Regions from separate parts of the Homo sapiens genome. Here region 1 is linked to region 2. The links are contacts of gene promoters, found by promoter capture Hi-C in blood cells and fetal thymus (Javierre and others, 2016). All regions are on one chromosome and are shown on one strand. Each heading gives the region's core, a stretch centred on a gene start or on the middle of the fragment in contact. The rest is flanking DNA. Distances are from core to core; before and after follow the strand shown. Region 1 has its middle 93 kb from the start of MTDH. Region 2 holds the start of TSPYL5 (TSPY like 5).

Region 1 (3,101 bases), core at 464-2,963, 270 kb before region 2:
AAAAGGAGGAAATAAAGGAAGGAAAGAGTGAAGGAAAGAAGGAGGAAGGGAGGAAATTGTTTCATTATAACTTGTGACAAGCTTTTGAAGATGAGAAGGATTATTCCAGTTTCTCAGAGAAGACCCAGAGAGTCCAAGTGCTACCTCATGTTTATGATGCCATTTGGTGGAATTTTCTCGGATTAGAAGGCTCAGAGTTTGGGCATTGTCGTGAGTTGAACTGTGTCCTCCAAAATAAGTTGAAGTCCTAAGCCCTGGTACCTATGAATGTGACCTCCTCTGGAAACAGGTTCTTTGCAGATGTAATCCAGTTAAGATGAGGTTGTACTGGATTAGAATGGGCCCTAAAGCCAGTGACTGATGTCTTTATAAAAAGAGGGAGATTAGGACAGAAAGACACACACAGGGCTGGGTGTGGTGGCTCATGCCTGTAATCCCGGCACTTTGGGAGGCAAGGCGGGCAGACCACTTGAGCCTGAGTTTGAGACCAGCCTGGGGCAACATGTTGAAACCCCATCTCTTCAAAAAAAAACAAAAAACAAAAGACAAAAATTAGTGGGGTGTGGTGGTGCACCTGTAGTTTCAGCTACTCCGTGGGGCTGAGGCAGGAGGATTGCTTGAGCCCAGGAAGGCAAGGCTGCAGTGAGCTGTGATTGTGCCACTTGCACTCCAGTCTGGGTGACAGAGTGAGACCCTGTTTCAAAAGAAAAAAAAAAAAGACACACTTAGGGGGAAGATGGCCATGTGAAGACAGATGCAGAAATTTAAGTGATGCAGTTACAAACCAGGAAATGCCAAAGATCCCCCTGGCAACCTGGAATGGAAGAAACTGGAAAAGGCAAGGAAGATTTTTTTCCTGGAGCCTTCAGAGAGAGGATGGCCTTGCTGACACCTTGATTTCATACTTCTAGGCTTTGGAACTGTAAGAGAATAAATTTCTGCTGGTTTAAGCCACCCAGTTTGGGCTAATTTGTTACAGCAGCCCAAGGAGGTTAATGCATCATGTTAAAAACTCTTAGTGACAATAGGCCCACCTGGGGAATGCAGAAAAGTCCTATGTATATTGGAAGGAAGTCAATATTCCAAGGAGATAAAGAGAGTTCTTGGTAAGGGTCAGACAGAAGAGAATTGTTTGATGGGTTCGAAGATATGTTTCTGTTGTTTCTTTGCCAAAATTTTAGTACAGGCAAATCTTTCTTTTCCTGTAATTTGTATTTCAATGTATTAAGCCTTACTGGAGGTCTTTGAAAAATGTTGCAGAAGTTTAACCATCTGATTTCTCCTCTCGTCAACTGACCATTTCTAAATGCACATAACAGCAGTTAGCATCTTGCTTGCTTCTAAATAGTTTCTGTTGTAGCATGATATGTTGCAATAAATGATTGAAGAGCTGAAAAATGGTAACCACCAAGATCAAGCTCTTAGGATGAAAATAAGGATTTAATGTACTGCAGCCATTCATTTATTCATTACTATCCTAAGGGTATTACAGGATTCTGAGGATTAAATTACTACTGGGAAAATATTGTCAAAGTAGGGGAATGGAATTTCCCCTCTCAAATAAGAACGAATGCTTCCCCTCATCCTTATGACTCAGGTAACTTAGATAATATGGTCCCAAGATAGAGACATCAGTTCTTAGGATACAACAACTTGTCGGTGGTTTAGGTGAGACAGCTTGATAAATGTCATCATCACTGCCCACTGTAGGAAAAATAAGTAAAGGACACCGAGATGCCTTTCTTTAGTTTCCCATGGTAACCTTTATATGCCTTCAGCTTTGCATGAATAAGATGATGGCGACAGAGATATGACTGCAACAAAATCAATAGTAAACACTATTCCAGACAGGATTTTAGTCTTGGCACCTAGTTGTGTCAAGCACATGGTATCCACTCAGTGAAAGTTTGCTGAATAAATAGAATAAATGAATACATAAATTAGTGGAATTGGATCCTTCACGGCAGTGTCCTTTATTGCTTTGTAACTGAGTTTGTTTCTATAATTTCCTGGCAGGATATCTAGAAGTGAGGGAGGCTCAGTGGATATTGACAATGATATGGCCAAAGTCATTAATTTAGAGTAGTAGTAAGTTTTGATTTTGCCATATTACCTCCTGTCGTATCAGGGTCACTTGCTCCTGAGCATATTAATAGGCTGGTATTTGATCCTATACAAAGATTTCAGAGGTACTGTGACTGTCATTGTCTTTTTAAATTTATTTTAGATGGACTCTCACTCTGTCACCCAGGCTGGTGTGCAGTGGCGTGATTTTGGCTCACTGCAACCTCCACCTCCTGGGTTCAAGCAATTCTCTGCCTCAGCCTCCCAAGTAGCGGGATTGCAGGTGTGTGCCATTATGCCCAGGTGATTTTTGTATTTTTAGTAAAGACCAGGTTTCACTATGTTGGCCAGGCTGGTTTTGAACCCCTGACCTCAATTGATCCACTTGCCTCAGCCTCCCAAAGTGCTGGGATTACAGGTGTGAGCCACTGTACCCGGCCTCATTGTTTTTAAAATCGAAGGCAACTACATGGCCTATAGCAATGACTGTGACATTTCTGCTTTCAGTTTCTGGTAAGTCCCTACATTAAGTTCCCATTTAGCTAAAAATGATGTTGCCATAAGTGTTTCCTGACCACAGGATTTAATACCAATGGATTCATTCAACATATATTTTTTGGGCGCCTACTATGTGCCAGGGACTTTTAAAGCAGTGAAGAGTTTTCTCTGAACAAAATGCCACCATGGAGCTTAAATTTCAATGGAACGATAATAAGCAGATAAAAATCTAAAACAACGTCAGATATTGGTAAATGCTACGATGGTGAGAGAGAGCGCCATCAAGAAAGGTTTCTGGGGTATGGGTGAGAGTACCCTTTATAGTTATGGGGGAGGTGGGTAGAGATCTATTTTCAGGAACAACATCAAGAGATCTGTTTTAGCTATGTTAAATTGGAGATGCCTATTAAACTACTGAACATCAGTTTCTCCTCATATCAGATTTATATCTATGTGCACGTGTGTGTGTGTGTGTATGTGTGTGTAAAATAATGTGAAGAAATGTGAATGAGTTAAAAGGGTTCTGGATGAGAAGCAGT
Region 2 (3,274 bases), core at 469-2,968:
ACATTGGGAAAGAGCATTTAAGGTAGAAGGAAGAGCCAGTGCAAAGGCTCTGAGGCAGGAGTTTACCTAGTGAGTTTAAGAACAGCAAGGAAGCCAGTGTAGCTAGAGGTGGGAGAGAGGAGAGAGAAGATGAGGTCAGAGAGGTAACTCATGTAGTGGCAGATAGAAGACTTGCCAGATCATACAGGGCCTTGCAGGCTATTCTAGAGCTTTTGAGAAAATGAGGAATCACTTGTATTAGGCCGGCTTAAAATAGGGCCATCTGTATAAAAATAATTCCTCTTTAAATTGTTTCCTTAAACTTAGGGGTGTATACAAATCACCCAGGATCTTGTTAAAATTCAAATTCTGACTTAGTAGGTCTGGGGAAAGGCCTGAGATTCTGCATCTTTAACAAGCTTTCAGGTGATATCAGGCTGCTGGTCCACAACCACACTTTGAGTAATGAGGTCCCGGGGCTTTTGGGCTTATCTCTCCACTAGCTGGTTACAAGGGCCTTTTTGTTCCCTTTGAGCCTGAAAAGACCACCTCAAAAGGTTTTTCTTTATATTTTTACATTAGCCACAGGTCCCCTCACTGTTCATGGTCCTATTACCTCACTAGTAAGAGCGTGGTCCAGGGCTGCCTCCGGGACTGTGGGGGAGGTTGTCCGGCTGTTTCCATGCACAGTGTAAGAAGTTTCTAGGGCTTCTGCAGTGCCACGTGGAGGCTCTGCTTCTGAACCTCAATCTGCTCCCTGAATAATAATTTCACCTCTCACCACATTCTTGTCTTACTCCAATTACAGGAGCTCTAATACAGGTCTTCACTTCTGGTCCTATACCTAGAGTGATAGTCCAGATCTGTAAACTGAGGCAGCTGGGGGACTCGGGTGATGTTCCCAGGCAGAAGAGGTGGTCAGGTGGTCCACGGAAGCCTGTTTGTTAAGGAGCAAGGCTGATTTCTTAAGAGCCAGCCCAGTAATTGACAGTGGAACAAGTCTGGAAGGACTTGCCATTTCCAAATATAAGGCATAGGATACGGAGTCCCATGGGCTTGAGTTTGAATTGTGCTTCCATCCCTTACTGTGTAACCTGGGGAATGTGCCCGGGTGTCTCTGAGATGCAGTTTTCTTATCTCGAAAATGGGAATGATATCAACACCTCCTTTGTAAATTGAGATAATGCATTTAAAGCACCTAGTAAAGTGCCTGGCACAAATGATACAAAATACTAGTTGCCATTATTTTTATAATTTCTACTATCATCTTACTGCGTACCAAATCGCTTTGACGCCCGGCATTATAGCATCCACCTTTACGTTCTCTGGAGTTAAGGTACCAGAGCAAATCCCTCAGCAAAGGTGTTCAAAGAGAGACACACACGCCCGAGCACTTTCTTCATGACAGATGCCACAAGAGATAACTGGAGGAGCTGAAGATGTTTAGTTTAGAAAACAGGTGATGGGGGACAGGTGGTGATGGCTCTTAGCGTTGCCTTGTTCAACGAGACCCTGAGAGCACGATGAGCCCGCGCGGAAGAGATGAAATGGCAGCACCCCCGCGAGCGCATATCAGAGAAACTCGCCGAGACCTAAAGCGAGTCCGCGCGAGATGGGGGTGGGAGCGCCCGCGGGGGTCGTCTCCTGCGCAGCCGCAGCGGCGGCGCCAATCACCGGGCGCATCACGTCCTCTCGCGACGGTACAGTTGTACGTTCGTGACGTCGGCGGTTGCCGTGGAGAGACCCGCTCGGTCCCGACCGAGAGCTGGCGTCAGGAGCCGCAGGGTCACAGCGTGTCTTTGAAGCTGCCTCCGCCGCCACCATGAGCGGCCGAAGTCGGGGTCGAAAGTCCTCCCGCGCCAAAAACCGGGGCAAAGGCCGCGCCAAAGCCCGAGTCCGCCCTGCTCCGGACGACGCCCCGCGCGACCCGGACCCTTCACAGTACCAGAGTCTCGGGGAAGACACCCAGGCGGCACAGGTGCAGGCTGGCGCGGGGTGGGGTGGCCTGGAAGCCGCTGCGTCCGCGCAGCTCCTCCGGCTCGGGGAGGAGGCCGCCTGCCGGCTCCCCCTGGACTGTGGCCTCGCGCTGCGGGCCCGAGCTGCGGGGGACCACGGGCAGGCCGCGGCCAGGCCCGGCCCGGGGAAGGCCGCATCTCTCTCGGAGCGCCTGGCCGCAGACACTGTCTTCGTGGGAACAGCGGGAACCGTGGGAAGGCCGAAAAATGCCCCCCGCGTTGGAAACCGGCGTGGCCCTGCCGGGAAGAAGGCCCCAGAAACCTGTAGCACCGCGGGGAGGGGGCCTCAGGTCATAGCTGGTGGGAGGCAGAAGAAAGGGGCGGCAGGGGAGAATACCTCGGTGTCAGCTGGGGAGGAAAAGAAGGAAGAGAGGGATGCAGGGTCGGGGCCCCCAGCGACGGAAGGCAGCATGGATACGCTGGAGAACGTGCAGCTGAAGCTGGAGAACATGAACGCCCAGGCGGACAGGGCCTACCTTCGGCTCTCCAGGAAGTTTGGGCAGTTGCGACTGCAGCACTTGGAGCGCAGGAACCACCTCATCCAAAATATCCCGGGCTTCTGGGGGCAAGCATTTCAGAACCATCCCCAGCTAGCATCCTTTCTGAATAGCCAAGAGAAAGAGGTACTGAGCTACTTAAACAGCTTGGAAGTGGAAGAGCTCGGCCTTGCCAGATTGGGCTACAAAATCAAGTTCTACTTCGATCGCAACCCGTATTTCCAAAATAAGGTGCTCATCAAGGAATATGGGTGTGGTCCTTCTGGCCAGGTGGTGTCTCGTTCTACTCCAATCCAGTGGCTCCCAGGGCATGATCTCCAGTCCCTAAGCCAGGGAAACCCAGAAAACAACCGTAGTTTCTTTGGGTGGTTTTCAAACCACAGCTCCATTGAGTCTGACAAGATTGTGGAGATAATCAACGAAGAATTGTGGCCCAATCCCTTGCAGTTCTACCTTTTGAGTGAAGGGGCTCGTGTAGAGAAAGGAAAGGAAAAAGAAGGCAGGCAAGGTCCAGGAAAGCAGCCAATGGAGACTACTCAGCCTGGGGTGAGCCAATCCAACTGATCCTGCACAAGTCTCCCTGCTACCTCCTGCTGGGCTGCTCCTGGTTGACTACATATTTGGCTCTCTGCCTTCTCTTCATGTTGGCCTCTGTGTACTATAGACCCTTTGGACTTTAGTTACAAGAATATGGCATTTATGATCATGTTCTTTTGCCTCCCATAGCCTCTTGCTTTTCTACGTTAGTGTCACATGTTATGTGATCGCACCCGGACTGTTCAT

The links. The method cuts DNA at HindIII sites, captures the fragments that hold promoters and counts their contacts. A CHiCAGO score of 5 or more calls a contact.
Region 1: a fragment that was not itself captured here is called in contact with the fragment with the promoter of TSPYL5 in region 2 in 2 of 17 cell types (M1 macrophages and M2 macrophages); the score reaches 7.8 in M1 macrophages.

Annotation. Positions count from the first base shown.
Region 1 is chr8:97,549,491-97,552,591 of GRCh38, reverse strand. No RefSeq gene overlaps it. Among named protein-coding and RNA genes, the nearest start is that of MTDH, 93 kb to the left of the region's middle. The HindIII fragment of the contact is 3,260 bases long and covers 84-3,101 here.
Region 2 is chr8:97,276,372-97,279,645 of GRCh38, reverse strand. It overlaps TSPYL5 (TSPY like 5), which reads left to right and starts at 1,718. Exons shown (of 1, transcript NM_033512.3): 1 at 1,718-3,274. The coding sequence starts at 1,802. The coding sequence ends at 3,055. All of the region lies in intron 2 of LOC101927066 (a long non-coding RNA gene), which reads left to right. RefSeq lists an enhancer at 2,180-2,681. The HindIII fragment of the contact is 4,352 bases long and covers 401-3,274 here.